Linked DNA regions of Homo sapiens: region 1 is linked to region 2. The links are contacts of gene promoters, found by promoter capture Hi-C in blood cells and fetal thymus (Javierre and others, 2016). All regions are on one chromosome and are shown on one strand. Each heading gives the region's core, a stretch centred on a gene start or on the middle of the fragment in contact. The rest is flanking DNA. Distances are from core to core; before and after follow the strand shown. Region 1 overlaps ZNF740 (zinc finger protein 740). Region 2 holds the start of TNS2 (tensin 2).

Region 1 (4,922 bases), core at 471-2,970, 140 kb before region 2:
TAAAAAAAAAAAAAACAAAAAACAGGGTGGAGAGGAGGATAGGAAGGGGACAGTTGATAAAACCCCAGGGCCACAGCAGAGGCAAAGGGCATCTGGGGAGAGGGTTCGAAGCTGTGGCGGACTCCACTAATGTAACCCTCCAATGTCAAGCCATGGGCGTGATCAGTAGCTAAGTGATGACAAGGCTGTTGGGGGTGGACGGAAAAGACTTGGGGCAAAGCAGACTGTTTATAGCCTGAGCTGGTAGGGCCTGGTGCAGCAGCCTACCCGGAACTGGCACTACTCTTTCCCAGGTTCCCTGACTCTCTATCCTGGTCTCTGAGAGCGTGCCCTACTTCCGTTTCCCCCACTCCAAACACACCTGAGGCATCTTCCAGTGCTAGGCCCCATGCTGGCCAGCAGGGGTCGGGCATTGGGCCCAGGAGCCTCTGCAGCGGTGTGAGTCAGTGGCTTCCCTGGGGTATCCGTGGGGCTCCCGGGCCCTCTGGATGCCAAATCACTCCTTTCACTGCTTTGCGCCTCTCTTCTCACACATGCACTGCCCCAGACATCAGCGCGGGAACTGAACCAACCACCTGCTCCTGAGTTTCCCTCACTGGGTCCTTGGCAGGGGTGGCTCTGCTATGGCTGTTCGCACATACTCTCTGAAGTTCCCTCCCTCCCACCCACCCAGGCAGGAAACCAAGGTCTGTGGGAACCCAGGGCACCTTCTGACCCAGTACACACATTAGTACACATAGGGGCACAGGTCACTCATGTGAGACTTACATGAATCTCTCCACATACACCCCTATCCCAAAGAGACTAGCTGTAAGTGGCAGGGACAGAGGGCTCTCATTTTCAAAAGCATTTTTGGGAGGATAGTTTTCTAAATATTTTAAAATGGTTTACAGGGTACTGGAAGATGTGGGGTGAATCATCCCAGAAGTGAAGGACAGGAAAAGCCCAGATCCAGCAGAACCCTTGAACAGGAAGGGGGCTGGCTCACATGCAGAAAGATGCCCCTGCTTGCAGGGACCACAGGGCTGATCCAAGGACTGAGGTCTAAGTTCTGGACCACATCAAATGGGAGTGTCAGCATAGAGCTGTAAGAGTACATGGCAGCAAACACTCCTCAGCGTCTCCCCAAAAGGATCTCAGATGCTGTCAGGGAAAATCGAATGGGTGCCATGCCTGCTTTCTTTTTCCCTGAAATACTCATACCACAGAGGTATGGACAACCCCCTCCCCAACCCCACCCCTCCAGAATAGGTAACAGCCAGGAATCATTGCTGGTATCCATTCTTTACATTTTCTGGGAAATGAAATCATACTTTCAGGAGTTTCCCATCTCAGACCCTACTGACAGCTTGGCACTCAGGTTCAGCCAGTCTCCATGATTACTAAGACAGTTCCCGTACCCGCCACAGGTCAGGTCAGGTTACAGTGGGGGTCAACCAAACCCCAAAACTTCCCATAAGGATTCTTTCTTTAGCAGAAAGAAAAGGTTTATTTCACCTTAGAAAATTCATGTTCACAAGCCCTGGCTTGGGTTAGAAACATCCTAACCACCAGGCTGTTGAATTCATCTTAAAAAAAAAAACCCTCCAAAACAAAAGCCCTTCTGTTCCCCAAATTGTGTTCTTCAGCTCCTGCTGAGACCTCAAGCACCCTTCATGTTTGGGCAAGAGGAGGCTATTTTCCACTCATCCTCCCTGAAGGTGAGGGCCAGAGAAGGGTTTGGCTCAATAATATGCCATCTCCTGCAAGCATACAAATACATGCATTCATATCTCACACACACTCTCTCTCACACACACACACACACCCGATTACTTTTTTGGGAGTGGACAAGGTGGTGGTATTGGAGCAGAGAGGAGCAAAGAATATGGTTAAGAATGGAACCTACATTAGGTTTCTTCTTTAGTCTTTTCTCTGCAGCACCCCCACCCCCATCCCCCACACTCTGTTGGGTAGGGATGGCCATCAGGAAGCAAGCCGAGATCTTGTTTTTTGGGACCAAAGGACAGACCCCTCCCTACCTCCTCTACCTGAATACAGTGATAGGACTTGGGGAGGGAGAACAGCTCCTACTGCTCAACAGGCATGTCAGAAGACCCCAGATTCCTTTGTTTCTTGAGCAGCTGTTAGCCAACTTGGGACCAGTCTTGGGTTGTTCCTAAGAGGGCACAAGGAGAGAGAACCCACTTTGACTTCCATGACTCCTTGCTCAACACATCTGTCTCACTTTAGGAGTCAATGGCAGCGAGGTAGCCACATACCATCTCCAAGACCGACTCCCCAAAAAAAGAAGAAAAGGGCTTCATGGGCCACTCTCACCCAAGTTTCCTCCTAAAGGCATTTGAGCTGATGCCATCAGGTGCCAATGTGACATGGGCCATGACAACACCCACTGGCACAACTCTTCCTTTTCCCTTGAGGAAGGAAGAGGTGCCATCCACTTTTTGGATCCAGCCCTTGTCTGCTCCACCCCGTTTTTCCTTTTGTCCCTACAGTGTATAAGGAAGCCAAAGTAAGCTCAGCTGCCATTCCTGACCTTATTCTTCCTCAAAAAGGAGGCGAAGTGCAGGATTGTGAAACACTGAGGAGCTACTGCAACTAAAAACCCAATTTTTGGGGAGAGCTGGACCAGCTATAGTCCCTACTTTGGACCAGGACTCTTATGCCTCTGGATTACCTGTATCCACAGTTTACCCGCTGAAGTTGCTTTTGGATAAACAAAAACAAGAACAGAACAAACAAATCCCCTTCCCCAATCTTTTCCATTTCAGCTGCCAGCTGGAGTCCAAGGTTGTGGGAGCCACACTTCAGTCTTGGTCCTGTACCTTGAGTCCCCACCTATGACCTCAGCCAAGGGTCCAGGGACTAGCTCCCCTACCCAGGAATGCTGTAAGAACTTCCCCGAGATACTCATAGTCTCAGATTATTTACAGAGCTGAGGTTCTGGGGCCACTGTCCCCTGATGCACTCTTCTGGTCTCCTGGGTCCACTCCTCCAGGAGTGGGACAGGTTCACATGGGGCGGTGGTGGGACCATCAGACCAGAGGGGGTGTGCTCTTCGGCAGGTTCTTCTGATCACTCCCACCACCCGGGGCCCCTTGCGCCTATAGAGAAAACTGCCCGTCGGAAGTCTTGGACTGGCACCCTTGGCACATCCGTTTGTGTCTGAGTAATCGATCTGTCCGAGAAAAACACTGAGAAGAAAGGGAGGGTTAAGTGCCTGAGCAGACAAACGCAGCTACCTGTTGGCTAACTCATTCCTCTCACAGGAGGCAGATACCACATTCTCCATCCCCTCAGCACGTGCACAGACAGCAGGAGCACACGGTGGTGGAGAATCCAAGCTCTCAGGCCAGACCGCCTGGGGCTGAATCTTGGCTCTATCACTCAGCAGCTGTGTGACCTTGGGCAAGTTACCTAACAGCCCAGAATCTGCATACTCATCTGCAAAACTGCAAAGCGAGGCTAAAAGTACCTACTCACAGCACAGCTGCTTTATTCATCAAAGATTTATTGAGTATCTATCTCAAGGCAGATACAGAGTAGAGAACCAGAGGAACAAAGTCTCTGCCCTCATGGAGCTTTTATTCTAGCGTCTGAAGATTCAGTGTAAGAGTGCAGAGCAAAGCTTGGGACCTAGCAATGCATCCAGGAAGTGTTAGCTATTATCATTTCTCATCTCTTGTTCTTGTCTTGTTTTGGCCCCAGCTCTTACATTCTCATCAGATCAGATACTGACCCCCAGGGCAAAGATTGTATCTCTTCCTCCAAAGTGCATTAGCTCTGAAGTTGGACTGAATCCCAGCTCTGTTCGTGATCTGCGGTGTCCCTGGGAAACTTAACTTCTCTGAATCTCAATTTTCCCATACGTGAAATAAGGACAATACAGCTACCTTAGGGAGTCAATGTGAGGATTAAATAAAATCATCTATGTAAAGTATGCTCTCACAGTGCCTGGCATAGAGTAAGTGATATGGAATGCTATTATTATTATTATTACAATGTTCTAATTGCTGCTCCCCATGATCAGCTGCATAAGGCCAGACAGATGCACTTCACCCCGATGTGTTAACTATTATGGCGAGTAACGCTGGTGGCTCTTTTGTCAGGCAGGAGTGGAGGGTGGCCCTGATTCTTGGGGAAGGAAAAGTGTGTGTGGGGTATTGTAGCAGGGATGAGCCTTACCTGATGACACCGTTCACACTGGTAAGGCTTTTCACCACTGTGCACACGCTTGTGGCGTTCCAGGTGGTACTTCTGGATGAAACGCATATCACATATATCGCATTCAAATGGCTTCTCACCTGGCCCAGGTGGACAGAGAAGTGAATGTGGGGAGGTATGTACAGTAGGGACCTCATTCCAGTTTTCTCAGAAACTTTAACTCTTAGTAATGTGTAGACACCTAAGTGATCATAAATGGGGAGAGGTCCCCAAAGGTGCTGGTCTCAGTGACACCAGATACAAAGCCATGCAATCTCTCTGCTTCATTGACTTATCTTCTTCCTTCATTTCTAATACTTACCCATTAAAATAAACCCAACTAGAGCCACAAACAGACATGGAATACAAGCGATAGACTATTCTCCCCCTTTTGAATATAAACAAGAGACTTACCAGTGTGAATAAGGATGTGCCTCTTTAGGTGGTAACTGCTCCGAAAGGCTCCAAAGCAGTGTTCACAAACAAAATTTTTGGGAATCTTTACTTGAAAAGAACCATTTTGTTCCACTACCACCACCTGGGGGCAATAATCAGGCATGTCATGAGGCCACCACTGCCCTCTTCCTGGAGACACTGTTCTACTCTGGGTCCACTTCCAGCTGTTGGAGAAAGGAACCTCTCTGATGCTGTCTAAAGGTGCTGCCATCTCCTGTACTCCATGGAGGTAAGAGACCCTTTGGGGAAGGAGGTGGAGTGGG
Region 2 (4,972 bases), core at 1,321-3,820:
ACCCCTCCCACCCAGGAGGGGTTCCCCAGTGGTGAGAGGGGTGGAGGTGGAGGGTTGATGCCAGTGTGGTTGCAGAAGCCTGTTTGGGAGGAGGAAGGGACTCCAGACCCTCTCCCCCTATCAGGTAGAATCAGATACCCACCTTTGCTTCACATTTTCTGTGCGTCGCCACCTTGCAGACTAGGGAAGGTAAGGGGAGGAGAGGGGTTAGCAGGGGCCTGTGGGACAGTGGAAGGAATGGCCTTCCCTCATCTCCCAGACCCTGGAACCAGACCCTGGGACTTCCAAGATCCCACCTGGACTGGGCTGGCTGGGGCAGAGGAGCAGGGCTAGGTTTTGAGGGAAGAGTGTGGCAGTGGGGTACTACTGCCCAGGCCAGGGGTAACGTTCCAGGGTGGGTGGAGGTGAGGAGGAAGAGAGGGAAGGAAGACTACCGTCACAAGTCAGGATGGGAAGGTGATGGAGAGTACTGGCTCTCCTGGGTTATGGGAGGTGTCTGTCATGGGGAGCCAGGGCCATCTGAAGGGGGAGGCAGCTGCTTCTTAGCTGCCATTGTGCCTAATCCAGGAGCAGCATATTACATTTGAGATTGTGTGAGCTGGCCTGCTGGAGTTGTGCAACACAGTGGTACTGGGTGGAGGGTCTCAGAGTCACAGGACAGAGAGCCTCACCTCTGCACGAAACGCCTGTCCCATCGATGGTCACCTTACATACTGCACAGACTGGAGGTTTCTTCCGGAAAACCTTCTCCCGGAAGCTATGAGGCTCAGCTTTCCTAGGCTGAAGGTGGAGGGACAAACAGAGGTGTGAGTTCCCAGTGGGCCCATCTCCATCTCCGGGACTGGGCAGGAGCCTTGCCTTAGCACTGCACTGGTTTTCTCCGTCCAGATCAAGCCCTCAAACTTGTAGGACGCACTTGGCCACAGCTGCTTCAGGGCGGTCATGGGGCCTGTCCTCAACTGTGCATGGAATCTGACCCCTTGCGTCACCTTTGCTGGGTCAGCTCCTCCCCAGGGGATCACTTGGGCCCCTCACATGGCCCTGGTGTGTGATGCCCTTGTGGAAAAGCCTCCATGCTCAGGCTTTCCCCCTGGTGTGGTAAGGGTACTCCCTGACTCTTCCCATCTTGTCCTCCCCGCATGGAGACCTGTGTGCAGAGTGAGCAGGGAGGTTCCAAACATATGTGTTGTATGTCAGTCCTGCAGCACCAGACTGAGCCGGCAGGAGTGGCCTCAGCCAGTCCTGCTCCTTTAGCTCCTGCTGTCCCCACGCTCCAGGCAGCTGACATGCCCTCCTCCCCCACGGTCAGAACAACATGTTTACTCATTGTGCACTGAGGCAGCAGACAGCAATTGTGTAATGGGGGTGGTCATGCTGGAGGGAAACAGATAGAAGCCTGTCACTGGGGAGAGATGTTTAGCTGGCTTTGGATGCTGTGAGTTCTCCCCCGACCCCCTGCACCCTGGCACTTGGGATTCACGCATTGAATGAGAAAGGAGTGGACCAGATTCCCTGTTCAGCCCCTCCTGACCCAGAGATGCAGTGAGGCAGGAGCCTGGGATGCCCCCTTATGGCCCAGGCCTATCTCAGTCCCTTCCCCTCCCACTGTGGGTTCTCTCCTCCCATCCTCTGTCTGGGGACAGCTTGTCTCCTTGCCATCTCTCTGTTTTACCCATATTCCCCCTCCTCTGGAGTTCAGACTCCTGCTGTCCTCCTCCCGGGGACCCATCACAGTAGTATCTCAGGTTGTCCTGAGCTGCTGCTTTTGGGGCAAGGCTGGGAAGTTGGGAAAGGGAGTGATGGGGATGTGGGCAGCACCTCTGGTTTCTTGACTGTCCCTGCAACTCTTCTGGGCTGGATCAACTTTGTGGGACCCACTAAGACACTTGGGAGCATGTTGGCATTAGCAGCAGATATGGATGTTGTCAGTGGAAAGCAAACCTCCAGTTCCAAAGCACTCCTGACTCCCTCTCCTCTCTCTTTTTCCACCCTGCCACCCCATTTCCCTCAAACTTCCCTGGGCCAGGGAAGGGGCCTGATGATCTCTGAGCCTGCTGGAGGATACCTGGATAGCGCATGGCAAAGTCCTGCAGTGAGGCACCTGGGGCTTATGTTGGGGGGCCAGGACCTCCTGGGGTTGGCCCAGGCTAGAGCAGGGAAGGTGAGAGGAGCCAAAACAGACAGCAGGACCTACTCTAACCCAAACATCCCCTCACACTACAGCCCTGGCCACTCCGGAGGGGATGCTGGGCCAGGGAAGAAGGCTGAGGAAGCTGAAATTGGGAAGAAGGCCTGGCCTGATTCCTGGTCCCCTCCCCCACTGCCCGCACCTCCACCCCTGCCCCTCTTTTGCCCAGCTGGTGGGCACTCCTACCCTGCTTGCGGCCCGGCTGCTGTCCCTCCTCCCCAGGGCTCTGAGCAGCCTCTCCACAGGGCCGCTGGACTTCATGGTGTTCGGCTGGCTGGGGTGCTGGCCCCAGGGCCTGAACAATGCTGGGGCCTGGCCCGGGGCTTCCTGGAAGCGGCCTGGCGGAGGCAGCCGCTTCCCCTGGGCGGAGGGTAGGCTGTCTGGCTGGTGTGAGGAGAAGCCCGGCCCTGGAAGTGGAGGGAAGTGCAGGCGGGAAGGGGGCAGGTCGCTGCTCCAGGAAGTGGAGGGGGGAGGATGTGGGGGAGGCCAGGAGATCAGATTCCCAGGATCTACCCTGCTGGGAGTGTCAGCCTGTGATCTTTTGCTCCCCCTACTCCCCCAACTCTGGAGTTGTCCCACACCTGGGACACCACACTCTCCAGGGATCTGCAGGGATCCATGGTCTTGAGATTCTGCCCCCACCCCCGGTGGGGCCGGGTGAGAATTCTGGTCTCGGGGCAGGGCTAAAGGGCAAGTGGGGAACAGTGTGTCCCAGCCAGGCTCCAGCCTGAACTCTCAAGCTCTCGAGGGACTTCCGCTGGGGAGGGAGTGGAGCTGGGAACTACTACCAGCAGGCAGGCCCAGGATCCCGAGTGTGTCCTGAGAGTCAGGTAAAAATGGGACTGGGGGCCCCCTTCCTGTCTCAGTTTCACTCGTTATGAAGTAGGAAAAGGAAAGCATGCACCGCCCACCTTTACCCTCAATACACCTTGCAAGGCCAAGTTCCAGCCACAAGACTGCTTTGCTCAGGTTTGGGGAGTAATCCATTCTCCTGCCACAGCCTAAGGCATATGAGGCCCTTCTCCTGAAAGCCCCCAGGTTTCTGCTCCTGACACAGTGCCCCCCACTCACCCATTCCCTGGCTTTGTTTCAGACATGATCTCACAGATCCCTAGCCCTCTTTCCAGCCCTGCAACTTGGGCTCTCTACCCAAGGGCTGCACCCTCCCCCCGCGGCAACCCCGAAGCCTGAGTACTACCTTCATGGCTCTCCTGGGTCTGCTCTCCTTCCTCAGCAGCTGTCCCAGGGCCTGAGGACTGGACAGGAGGTCCCCCCTCCCAACACATACTCCACCCCCATCCATGGGCCTCCGGCCTCCCTCCTGGGAACATGGCCAACTTCCCGTCCTGGGAGTCAAGGGAGGGAGGTGGATGGGGCCTTGAAAAAGGGGGAGTAATCTTCCTAAAAGCTAAGGGGTTAATGGCCTGGGAGTCTTCAGCCCCAAGCTGTGGACAGCAGCCCCTGGGACAGGCTATAGCTGTCACTTGAAAGAATGTGCAAATGTGCCCCTCTCATTTGCATGGTATTTATTGAATGTCCCAGTACTCAGGCAACTCCCCCAGCCCTGGCTTCTCCCACGGAGTCCCTTCTACTTGCTTCCTGCTCCTTCATATCCACCAGGATGGGTTCCCTGGGATGAAGAATCCTGCATTCTCTGGGGTGAGGCCTGCTGTGGGTGCCCACTTGAGACCCTTGCGAGGACCTGACTGGATTGGGCCTAGCCTGACACCTCTCCCTGGAAGCTCCAATTTTCCAGGCCAAGAAATGTGTCCCCAGGATATCCTGGCCAGAAGGTGGCATCTGTGTGGCAGGCCTGGGCTCCCTGCCTGTAACTGGAGAGGAGCACGGGCTCTGTGACCCACCCCCATCCTGCCAGCCTGGCTGTGTCCCAGCACATTCCAGGCCCCCGGCCAGTGTGGGCAACCGGGCCTGGCCTTGTCGAGCCCCCAGCCCTGCTTGGGGGAGATGGGGCAGTGTGACAAGGTGGGCAGTGGGGGTGGCTTTTTTCTGTCCAGTCCCAGCTTCTGCTCCTATGGCACATGGCCCTGACCAGGACTCCTCTACATGCTTCACTCTCCTGCTGCCTCCATAGGGGCTGAAAGTCCCCTCACCTGGAACAGGTCCCCAGACATCCTCTCACCTTCACTGGTCTCACACTCCCCACCCAGACCCAGCAAGGAGGTGCCCAAGCAGTGAGCTCGGTGAGGGGTGGGGTGGTCAGGATCCACTGTGGCTGTGAGTCCCTCCCATCCTGTGGCACTCGCACCTCGGAAGGGAAGCAGGGATGGGATCCCTATGAGCCAGTCCCGAGGGGAAAAGTAGCTCACTTGAGGAGGGCTGGGAAGGCATCACTAGACCCTCTTGGACCCTCACCCTCCTCCCGCCTGTAACATTCCAGAGCCTGTCAACCTCTCCCCCAGCCGGGCCCCCTCTCTCTCCGAAGTCTTGGGTTTGTTTGGAGAAACCCCTCCACCCACACCCCCCTTTCTGGAAATAGCTGTGGTTGGAAGGGAGGCTGGGAGCCCGGCCGCCGCGGAGGAGGGGTAAGGCCCAGGGAAGGAGCGAGGGAGGGCGGCGGCTCTGGGGGTGTTCCCAGAAGGGTCTGGAGGATGGGGGCAGACTGGAGGGGGCCGCAGAGCGGGGCTGGCGAGTCGAATCAGCCTCATCTGTGCCCGCTTACGGCCTCTGTCCCACATGTGAAGCAGGAAAGGAAAACGTTCGCCCGCACCCTGCCAGGCCGGGGCCCGAGCGCCGCTGCCAGCTGCTGCCGGGTCCCGGGCCTGC

Evidence for each region. Contacts are between HindIII fragments. The CHiCAGO score rates a contact against its expected background, and 5 or more counts as called.
Region 1: a contact is called between a fragment that was not itself captured here and the fragment with the promoter of TNS2 in region 2, in 2 of 17 cell types (M0 macrophages and M1 macrophages). The highest score is 7.0, in M0 macrophages.

What each region holds. Positions count from the first base shown.
Region 1 is chr12:53,185,773-53,190,694 of GRCh38, reverse strand. ZNF740 (zinc finger protein 740) reads right to left here. Exons shown (of 7, transcript NM_001004304.4): 5 at 4,618-4,741; 6 at 4,186-4,304; 7 at 1-3,194. The coding sequence ends at 3,105. Among named protein-coding and RNA genes, the nearest start is that of CSAD, 7.3 kb to the right of the region's middle. RefSeq lists a silencer at 316-610. The HindIII fragment of the contact is 3,821 bases long and covers 1-3,630 here.
Region 2 is chr12:53,047,663-53,052,634 of GRCh38, reverse strand. It overlaps TNS2 (tensin 2), which reads right to left and starts at 2,570. Exons shown (of 29, transcript NM_170754.4): 1 at 2,375-2,570; 2 at 672-780; 3 at 143-180. The coding sequence starts at 2,449. All of the region lies in intron 2 of TNS2-AS1 (TNS2 antisense RNA 1), which reads left to right. RefSeq lists enhancers at 3,566-4,409, 4,410-4,972 and a silencer at 4,712-4,972. The HindIII fragment of the contact is 14,276 bases long and covers 1-4,972 here.